Regions from separate parts of the Homo sapiens genome. Here region 2 is linked to region 1. The links are contacts of gene promoters, found by promoter capture Hi-C in human tissues and cell types (Jung and others, 2019). All regions are on one chromosome and are shown on one strand. Each heading gives the region's core, a stretch centred on a gene start or on the middle of the fragment in contact. The rest is flanking DNA. Distances are from core to core; before and after follow the strand shown. Region 1 holds the start of ACP2 (acid phosphatase 2, lysosomal). Region 2 overlaps PHF21A (PHD finger protein 21A).

Region 1 (5,515 bases), core at 1,700-4,199:
CCAAAGATTTACACTCTGAAAGTACAATGGTCTGGCTAGTTTGCAAGGAGTAAGAGGCCCATTAAAACAAAACACTCAACTGCCTCCCACTACCACTAATATGCAGCATTTTGCCAATTACCCAAGCCCTCTTTATTTTATTTTTTTTTTTGAGACAGAGTCTCGCTCTGTTGCCCAGGCTGGAGTGAAGTGGCACAATCTCGGCTCACGGCAGCCTCTGTATCCTGGGTTCAAGTGATTCTCCTGTCTCAGCCTCCCCGGTAGCTGGGATTACAGGCACACGCCACCACGACTGGCTAATTTTTGTATTTTTAGTAGAGATGGGGTTTCACCATGGTGGCCAGGCTGGTCTTGAACTGCTGACCTCAGGTGATCCACCCGCCTCGTCCTCCCAAAGTGCTGGGATTACAGGTGTGAGCCATGTCCGGCCTAGGTCCCGTTTAGTCCAACTAATTTGAAAAGGTTTCCTTTGACAGATACCTCTTTATTGAAAGGATTTCGGGATCACCAATTACAGTTTAGTAATGCAGTTTGAGTAGCCTGCAAGAAGCAGCCCATTATAGACTATTTAACTGAAAATCACAAAACCTGACTTTTTTTTTTTGAGACGGAGTCTTGCTCTGTCGCCCAGGCTGGGGTGCAGTGGCACGATCTCCGCTCACTGCAAGCTCCGCCTGCTGGGTTCACGACATTCTCCTGCCTCAGCCTCCTGAGTAGCTGGGACTACCGGCACCTGCCACCACACCCGGCTAACTTTTTGTATTTTTAGTAGAGATGGGGTTTCACCATGTTAGCCAGGATGGTCTTGATCTCCTGACCTCGTGATCCACCCGCCTCGGCCTCCCAAAGTGCCGGGATTACAGGCGTGAGCACGCACCCGGCCAAAACTTGACTTTTAATCCATTCTCAAACTGTGCCCATGCCCAAACTGTGAATTTGGGCAAGTCACTTCCTCTCTTTAGGTTTGTTTCCTAAGCTGTAAAGTAAGAGGACTAGGTTAAATCAGGTATTCAGAGATGCTGATTTATGAAACCTGTAATAAATGGTCTTTGTGAACCATTTGGGATTATATGCAAAATTCCATGTGTGTGTTTATATGTGTGAACATTTTTCTGGAGGAGAGGTGCAAAATTTTCATGTGATTCATAAAGGGGCTTGTGATTAAATAAGAAGGTTAAGAACTGTTTGGCTACCCAGGCTTTGGCTCTTACTCTATTTGCTTCTTGGCCTCCTCCATGACAACTCTGGAAGCAAAGTTTAAATCCTGAAGTATATATAAATAATTGAATCTGGAGTCCTAGGACAAAATAAAGACAGATAATCCTGATCTTTTTTTTTCTTTTCTTCTTTTTGAGACACAGTCTTGCTCTGTCATCTAGACTGGAGTGCAGTTGCACCATCATGGCTCACTGCAGCCTCAACCTCCTGGGCTGAAGGTGATCCTCCCACCTCAGCCTCCCGAGGAGCTAGGACCACAGGTGTGTGCCACCACACCCAGCTAATTTTTAAACTTTTTTTTGTAGAGAGGAGATCTTCCTAAGCTGCTCAGGCTGGTCTCCAACTCCTGGGCTCAAGCAATCTTCCCACCCTGGCCTCCCAAAGTGCTGGGATTAGAAACGTGAGCCACCACACCAAGCCTAATCAGGTTTTTGTTGTTGTTGTTTTGAGACAGTCTCACTCTGTCGCGCAGGCTGGAGTGCAGTGGCGTGATCTCAGCTCACTGCAACCTCCGCTTTCCGAGTTCAAGCGATTCTCCTGCCTCAGCCTCCAGAGTAGCTGGGATTACAGGAGCACGCCACTGCACCCGGCTAATTTTTTTTTTTTTGTATTTTTAGTAGAGACGGGGTTTCGCCACGTTGGCCAGGCTGGTCTCGAACTCCTGACCTCAGGTGATCTGCCTGCTTCGGCCTCTCAAAGTGCTGGTATTACAGGTGAGCCACGGCGCCCAGGCCAAGCCTGATCAGTTTTGTTTCCCAAAGATCTGAGGAGATTTGCTTCCAGTAGGCAGATCTGAATCAAAGCATCCCCAGGACCTATGATCTGACCTGCAACCGTCACAGGAGTCACAAAGTCCTGAGGCCAAACTGGCTGCACCTGAATCCTAATGGTCAATGCCAAGAGGGCCATTGATTCTGTGGAAACCCCACCTACTCCCACTTTATGATATGCGCCTGTCCCTTACCTCAAAATACCTCCCCACTGGTCTGAAATTCCTCCCCCAGGGATTCAGTGCTTTGGGTTTGTAAAGTCTGAACATCCTGTGCAACCCAACTCCTTTGGGAAGAGGCATGACATGACGTCTTGACTCTAATTAACTAAAACTTGGAAGTGGAGGGGAGGGAGGACAGGGAAAGGACTGGAAGGGAAAGTGAGAGGGCTACTGAAGCTTTGTGCAGGGCAGGAACGGTAGGCCAGACTGGGGCAACCTCAAGGACACACGGAGTCCAAAGGGTTGTTTACATACTGTGTCCTGCACCCCAAGCAAAACATCTCCTGGAGAACAGGGCCAGGGCTCAATCTCCCCACAAAGGCAGGGGCGTGGAGAGAAGCGACCTCTACTTTCCCATCCCTCGCCTCAATTCTGCACCCGATCTAGCTATGGGGTCAAGCCTGGAGGGGACGCTGGTTCTCCAGACATGGTCCCGCCCACTGCAAGTGCCACCTTGGTAAGGGATTTCTCCGAGCAGAGGCAAACGCGAATTTGTGGCCTTCTTAATCAAGATGAGGTCTTCGAGCCCTGTCTGCCGCGCCAGGTCGCGTTACCTTCTTATGCTCCTCCGCCACAGCCAGACCACGACCCTCCTGCACGCAATCCCACCGAGACTGCGCCTTTTCCCCGCACCCCAGCAGGTCCCTAAGTAAGATGGCGGCGAACGCACTTCCGGCGTGTGTCCTTACGGGTGCGTCCGGGCGGCTGCTTGCAGGTGCCACCCAGCGGGTTCCAGCTTGTTTGCTGCATAGATTACAACGGTGATGGCGGGCAAGCGGTCCGGCTGGAGCCGGGCGGCTCTCCTCCAGCTCCTTCTCGGCGTGAACCTGGTGGTGATGCCGCCCACCCGGGCCCGGAGTCTGCGCTTCGTTACCTTGGTAATGAGAGATGGGCTCACCAAAGACTTCCCTGAAGCTAAAAGGGCAAAGGCCAGCTGGTGGAGGTCGAGGATCTCGGGAAGGAACAGCTGGTTTAGGAGGGGACGACTGGCCTGGGTAGTTGGGAGGCTGGATTCAGGATTGACCTGGAGCCCTGGCTTATGGGAGTCAGGATGACCGAATACGTCGGGGTGAGTCTGCCTTGAGACAGGGAAGTGGTTGAATGGTTAAGACTCATCCCTAAAGAAGCCTTTGGTTATCTTTTTTCCCCAGTTGTCCCCACCACATACGTTGCTTTCACTTCTCTTTTCCCTTCCTACCTGTACCTTGGCTTTGCCTATGGTCTCCAGTAGCATTGCTTAGCTAAGTTAGAATCTCTGGAATCTGGAAGAAGTGACTGACTCCTAGCTGGGGTCTTTTGCAGCCAGTAGGCTTCCCAGAGGGAATGAGACTTCCTTCCCTAACATGGGGCAAAAGGTAGGCTCTGGGTCCCTATCAAGGGGATGCTTCTGACCTATAGGCAAACCATTTTATTCTCTCAGCTGTACCGCCATGGAGACCGTTCACCAGTGAAGACATATCCCAAGGACCCCTATCAGGAAGAAGAATGGCCCCAGGGGTTTGGTCAGTTAACCAAGGTGGGTCAGAAGCCAGCCTTTCCTCAGGATGAGCTGCAGAATGAGCGACGTCTAGAGCAGTCTACAAAACTTGGGGTCCTACTAAACTGCCTTTTCCCATATGGGTGCTGACTTTGACCAGATTTCATAACCTTAATCTCTGTGCCCATGATATTGCTGTGCATGACTGGCCACTTAATGAAAGACTTCTGGGATCAGATTAATTGACTCCAGCAAAGCGTGAACCTGGAAAGCAACAGGGCCTAAACCCCATGGGGCTTGAAGCCACCCCTTCCCTCTAGACCCTCTTAACCCTTGGGTTTGCCCACAGGAGGGGATGCTACAGCACTGGGAACTGGGCCAGGCCCTGCGGCAGCGCTATCACGGCTTCCTAAACACCTCTTATCACCGGCAAGAGGTAAGGTTGGGAGCTCCAGAGGCAAGGGGAACAAGGTATGCTGCCCTCATCTTTTGCCCTCAGGGAGCCTAAGGCTGAGGCTGGGCACTTTGGCCTCCTTCTTGTATTTTTGGTCACAACTACAGGAAAAGACATCTGAGAGCTGTCTGGAACAAAGCCCTAGGAGCTGAGTTGCCCCTGCTTGGCTGGGATGAGGCAAATTTGATTAAGCATCCAAATTCGGACTTAAGGGCGGGCCTGGCAAAGTGGTTTCTGACTGTGAAATCACAGGCTTTCCATCCAAGACATTGAGTACCTATTAAAGGCCAAGGACTGTGCTAGCACTTTGCATTCAGTTGTGCACCATACAGATATGATCTCTGTCTTCATGGAGCTTAGAATGTTGTGGGGGTATCTAATGATAAACCAGACAGGGCCAAGATGAAAGACAGCGGGGAAGACATGCGTAGAGAGGGCTTGTCTTTTCTTGATCAAGATGAGGTTTTTGAGCCCTGTCTGCTGCGCCAGGTCGTGCTATATTCCTAGGGCACATCAGGGAGGACTGGTGAGTGTGCCTGCTCCTTGAGTCTTCGCCCCACCCCAGGAATGGGGGAAGCTGTTCCTCTGATTACCACTGTCAGCCTCAGCCGTATCAAGAATCCATAGACATTGTTATTGTTCTCTTAAGGCCCAGCTCTGTCCTGAGCTTGTCCTTCCCCAGTTTCCTCCTCCCTTTTCATGAGCCACTATCTCTGAATAAGCTCTTCAAAAAAAATTTTTTTTTTTGAGACAGAGTCTTGCTGTGTTGCTCAGGCTGGAGTGCAGTGACATGGTCTTGGCTCACTGCAACCTCCACCTCCTAGGTTCAAGCGATTCTCCTGTCTCAGCCTCCCAAGTAGCTGGGATTACAGGTGTGTGCCACCATGCCTGGCTAATTTTTGTATTTTTAGTAGAGACAGGATTTCATCATGTTGGCCAGGCTGGTCTTGAACTCCTGACCTCAGCTGATCCGCCTGCCTCGGCCTCCTAAAGTGCTGGGATTACAGGCATGAGCCACCGTGCCCGGCCCAAAATATATACATATATTTTAAAGGGGTCTCACTCTGTCACCCAAACTGTAGCACATGCCTCAGTCATAGCTCACTGCAGCCTCAAACTCCTGGGCTCAAGTGATCCTCCTGCCTCAGCATCCCAAGTAGCTGGGACTACAAGTGCCCGCCACACTTGGGTAATTAAAAAATTTTTTTTTGTAGAGACAGGGTCTCACTATGTTGCCCAGGCTGGTCTCGAGCTCCTGGCCTCAAGCGATCCTCCTGCATTGGCCTCCCAAAGTGCTAGGATTATAGGTGTGAGCCACCAGGCCCAGCCCTTTATCTTATTTTTTTCTCCCTGGTCTCTAAGGGTCGTCACTGGA
Region 2 (5,515 bases), core at 1,784-4,283, 1.1 Mb after region 1:
CTGCCTAAAGCTTTCAAGCTTGTTTCACAGTGAAAAAGATGTATATCTGTATGTGTTAGTATTAGGTATATATGGATATATCATTTTTGTTTTTCTATTTTAGAAGGATGCACAAGGAAATGACTACTCAAATCTAGAGGAGTGCACTGAAATATTTTTGTGTAAAAATAACCCAAAAGTTTAAAGCCTTGAGTTTCAGCTTTCTTATAAACTCTGCTCACAAATTTGGAATAGAAACATTTTAAAGTAAAATATAGATAATTAGGAACCCTGTGTTTATGAGCCTATCAAAAGGTATAGTATCTTAAATTTTAGAAGTGACTATTCTTTTGAAATTGCCCCCTTTAGAAAGTAAATATAGAAACTTGCTTCTGTGAACGGTGAGAAAAACACTTAACTGTTTAGATAAAAATGAAACCTCTCAGGGTGTTATTAACTTTTTCATCCTACAGACAGTGAATAGTAAAGCTTTCTGTGAAGACATACTGAAGTTAAGCTTATATTAATGTGCTTTTAAATTTTGTATCCTTAGTATTTTATTGCTGAAGGCTTTTGTATTTAATTACTATTCAAACAGAGAAGGGAAGGAATTAAAGTTTTAGGTCTCTGACCTTTAATGGAATTCTTTTATATCTATATCTAGAACTGATTTCTTGAAACATGTTTGAATTTTCATATTATTTTGTGCTGGGAAATATTAATGATTTATGTTGACTTCTCAGGAGCTTTTGTACATGGGCTTTTTTTATAGGCCTAAGAATTCTTTAACGTTTTGATCACATTAATTTTCTCAGGTGTATGTTTTTGCTGCTTTGCGATTTTTTAAAAAAGAGATAATATGTTAACATTGCATTGAATTTATTGTAGATAATTATTTCTTAAATAGCTTATGTTTTCTACTTTGTATGTTTGTGTGTATATGTGGCCATACTATTTTGTAGGCTTTCGTATAATTCTTATATGTGTGTTAAATTTTTGAATAGTTATCTTTTGTAAAAATGTTGAAGTAGACTTTATGAATAACTTTTCTATTACTTGTCCCTCAATTCAGTCTTAAAATTATGGTGAACTCTTCCAAAGCTTTTAGAAATTATATGTGAGGTTCAGCCATCCTTTGGACTCTTCTAAAGCAACTTTCTTACACTAGACTTGTGTGGCAATTTGAATACTCCTCCACTTCTCCCTTTCAGTACCCTGCAAGTCTCTCCCCTCTCCCTGCCTTAAAAAAAAAGTAAATAAAAAAGACTTTGGTGAAAATATCTCAGTTGAAGGCAACTATTCTTTTCTATACTTTGGAATCAGTTACAGAAATGTTTTCTGCCTTTTCTAAGTAGTCAAGAAAGTGAACCAGTATGGAGGGGATAGGAAGGGGATGAGGCCTAACAGGTTGATGATCTAGGCTTTATTTTGACTCTGTTTGTGGGCCTAGGGGAAAAATAACTTAAACACAGAAGCCAAAAAGATGGGTTTTGTTTTATTGTTTTGGCTGCATTGAGAATACAAACTGTCAGTACTTGAGGAGAAGGAGCAGCAGAAAGGAATTGATTTTTTTTCTGCTGCAGATCCAAGTATTGTTAACCATGTGCATCTCCAAAGCGACATACTTACAAATCAAACAGTAGTTGATTATTTCACTCAATTAACAGTCAGAACCCTAAATTGTGTGTGTTTTTTTTAAATTTTAAATAAGTACCCAAAACTTTGGGGTAATGACAGTAATTTCCTGATAAAAGTGGGTATAGTAACCATGGCAACTGCTATCTCTGGCCTTATGGACAGTATGTTGTATTGACGAAGCTTCAAATCCTTTATAGTAGCCCGTCACTTTTATGGTGAAATGTAGTAGCATGTGTTGCAGATGATTTTTAGCTGGATTGCGTTAAATTTGTGTGCCAGCTTATCTTTCCTTGTTAGGAATTTCTTGGACTATATTCCAAAACATGTTTGTGAAGGTGCTGTTGCCTGAAAATAACCCACCACCTGTGTTAGGCCTCCTGATGCAGATTGCACTTAGTTCTTTCCCAGCCTCCTTCCACAGACTTGCAGAAAATAGGAGGGTGTGTAGCAACTGTATATATGTAAATTCTAGCTCAAACTTATCAGCTTGTGTTTGGACGTGTTACTGATAGCTTAAAAAATCTTTTGTGTTTTCAGAAGAGGTCAGTGGATGAGAGAAGTGGGCTTGTAGTTGGAATACTGTTTTTCTAAGTGTTCTTTGTAGAAGCGTGTGTGTGTGGGGATGTGTGCGTGTGTGTGTGTGTGTGTAGGGAATTAGAGGTGAGGAATGGAGGGCATAAATATTGAGTAAGGACTTGACAAAAGCAGAACTTCAGTGTTTTTTGTTTGTTTTTGTGATGGGGTGTGTGCGTATTACTAAAAAAATTATTTCCTGGTGGGCAATATTAGAATATGGGGAATGTTTGCTTCTGAGAATTTTCTTCAAGAAAAATTATTTATAAAATACATCTTGAATAATTGTTAAAAAGCAACCTGTTAAAACAATTAAACTTTTTTTTTTTTTTTTTTTGAGAATGAATCTCACACTGTCACCAGGCTGGAGTGCAGTGGTGCGATATTAGCTCACTGCAGCCTCCACCTCCCAGGTTCAAGCAATTCTCCTGTCTCAGCCTCCTGAGTAGCTGGGACTACAGGCGTGCGCCACCACGCCCAACTAATTTTTGTATTTTTAGTAGAGATGGTTTCACCATGTTGGCCAGGATGGTCTCGATCTCTTGATCTCGTAATTCACCCGCCTCAGCCTCCTAAAGTGTTGGGATTACAGGCGTGAGCCACCGCGCCCGGCCAAAACAATTAAACTTTTTGTGGGGGAGGATTAGAGAATGTTGAAATGGATCCATTCAAACTTTAAAAAACTATTTCAAAAATTATATTTTTTATTCATCAAGTTTTTTTGCTTTTTCAGCATTTTTTTCTGTGCTTCTCCTACGTAAGATTTTTCTAATGTGAAAATGTTGGTCTAAATATTGATACTTTTTCCGGTATGTGCTAGAGAAACTGTGTGCCACATCAGAGAACATACAAATTTGATTTAAATTTGATTAGACTCTGATAATAAGATATAGTCAAATTGTGCTAGATAGTTCAGACTTTCTTGAAACTTGCTGTGATAACGTGGTTTACTTACTACAAGTCCCAGTATGCATTGCAGTTTTTGCTTAACTTCAGATTAGAGCACTGCATGCTGGGACCTGTAGTTGATTTAAACAGTACGGAAAACCCTTCCTTCTTGTCTGCTCCATTTTATTATACACAGCTTCCCAGCCCTCTAAGAACTTTCTGCTAAGTAGTTTGATTACTAATATTATGATTATTATGCTGCTCAAATTCTAAAGTGAGTCTTCAGAAACAACCTAGTGTTTTAGTTTACCTTAGATTAGTTTATTGTATTTTTTATCAGCTACTATAAGGTTTACACACAAAATAATATATTGAAAACTTGACTTAGCAGATGTAAATTATTTTTATGCATGTGGCGATACAGGTCTCTTTATAATTATGGCATCATTCATTGCTAGTGTGGGCATGAGAAGCCTCTTATTATCAAGCCTGATATATATGCTGTTCCTTTTTTTTTAAAATGGGGATAGTTGTTCCGTAAGGTTGGATGGAAGGTTTTCTGTGCCAGTATTTAATTTCAGAGTTCTGTGATTCTTCTGTAATAATTGTCAACATCTTGAATATCTGTACGCTTTAACTGGAATTCCTGAAAATAAATGTGGTTTTAGTGTAAATTTAATACTTGAAAATGTAGTCTGAGGCAGAGAAAGAGGTGAAATGTCTTTAATAATTTATTTATATTTTTATTTGGAAAGTTTAAATTTTTTTGGTGAGGATTCTACTTTAATTTTATTAACTAATATCAGAGGGTTGTTACAGGGATTAATTGTTAAAATCTATGACCGTACCTAGCACGGTGCTTGGCACATAATAAGGGCTCAGTAAACGTTTAGAATTAGCAGCAGCAGCAGTAGTAGTAGTTACTGTTATTTTAAAAAATAGCACGCTTCACATTTTTTTCCTCTCTTTTTACAATATAATTTGATCAGAAGCTCAGGCTGTTCTAAGACCTTGAGATTTTTGGCTTATGGTAATGATGTGACAAATTCCTGAGAATGTTTTTGCTGTGTGTAAAATGTCCTTGCACCTCAGTTTCTCCCTAAGTGATGTATGCCCCCAAAAGGACTATCACACCAGTAACTGAATATTTTGACTAGTATTCAGCTCTGCCTGTCTAGTACTCATTGCATCCATACCACAAGCCTTTGGTTGACTTCAGAAAGTTCAAAAGGTAATGAAAATTTATTGTTTACAATGTTTGCACTGTTAGAATATCCAAACTAGTTGATTAAGGAAAATAAGATGCTGCAAAATGCCCCTTTTGTTACAGTGTATGTAACCTTGGAAAAATTCTGTTGTGTTTAGAAGCATGTACCAATCTATCACTGTAGTTCACAGTGTTACAGGATTGATGTATTGGAGGCCAGTAAACAGCCCCAGAAAGAAAGTGTAGTTTCAAAAAATCTTAATTCTTTACATTAATTTTCTCTTTTAGGACACTGACTTCTTTTAGGCTCTTGAACTTGTATTTTTATTTGCATGGCTGGTTCCTTTTGGCTGTTTGAGAAGGGAAAGGGATGCCTGGGGATATTGGAAAATGTAAGTGTAAGCTGCAATGTATATGTCTTAGTTTGAATGTATGCAGAAGCAGGGCAGTGCCTTTCTTACTTGCTTAGCCAGTATCTTATTCCAGCTTTTTCTCTTGCGAGGAGTTCTTACAATATTGTTGCTGAGGGCTACCATGTTTATTTAAGAAAACTCTGCCTTTAGTTTTATTTATTTATTTATTTATTTATTTGAGACGGAGTCTTGCCATGTTGCCCAGGCTGGATATGGAGTGCAGTGGCGCAATATCAGCTCACTGCAACCTCTGCCTCCCAGGATCCAGCAGTTCTCATGCCTCAGCCTCTCGAGCAGCTGGAATTACAGGCATGCACCTCCATGCCTGGCTAATTGTTATATTTTTAGTAGAGATGGGGTTTCACCATGTTGGCCAGGCTGGTCTCTTAACTCTTGGCCTCAAGTGATCTGCCCACCTCGGCCTCCCAAAGTGCTGGGATTACAGGCGTGAGCCACCACGCCTGGCCCAAGAAATATTTTTTAAAGTACTTGTTTATATAGCAAACCAATCTGCTGTAATAATACTAGCCTCCCCCCCCACATAGTTGTGATTTAAAATTTGTTAATATGGCCAGGCGCGGTGGCTCACGCCTGTAATCCCAGCTCTTTGGTAGGCTGAGGCGGGTGGATCACCTGAGGTCAAGAGTTCGAGACCAGCCTGGCCAACATGGCAAAACCTCATCTCTACTGAAAATAGAAAATTAGCTGGGCGTGGTGGCAGGTGCCTGTAATCCCAGCTACTCGGGAGGCTGAGGCAGGAGAATCGCTTGAACCCAGAAGGCGGAGGTTGCAGTGAGCTGCGGTTGTGCCATTGCAC

What was found. Contacts are between HindIII fragments. The study calls those that stand out against the background at their distance.
Region 2: a contact is called between a fragment that was not itself captured here and the fragment with the promoter of ACP2 in region 1, in 1 of the 25 tissues and cell types used here (dorsolateral prefrontal cortex).

What each region holds. Positions count from the first base shown.
Region 1 is chr11:47,246,248-47,251,762 of GRCh38, reverse strand. It overlaps ACP2 (acid phosphatase 2, lysosomal), which reads left to right and starts at 2,949. Exons shown (of 11, transcript NM_001610.4): 1 at 2,949-3,087; 2 at 3,630-3,725; 3 at 4,036-4,122. The coding sequence starts at 2,974. It also overlaps a transcript of NR1H3 not described here. RefSeq lists a silencer at 2,506-2,673 and enhancers at 2,754-3,263, 3,394-3,483. The HindIII fragment of the contact is 13,067 bases long and covers 748-5,515 here.
Region 2 is chr11:46,110,837-46,116,351 of GRCh38, reverse strand. The region is part of intron 1 of PHF21A (PHD finger protein 21A); the gene reads left to right. Among named protein-coding and RNA genes, the nearest start is that of PHF21A, 7.9 kb to the left of the region's middle. The HindIII fragment of the contact is 6,770 bases long and covers 1-5,515 here.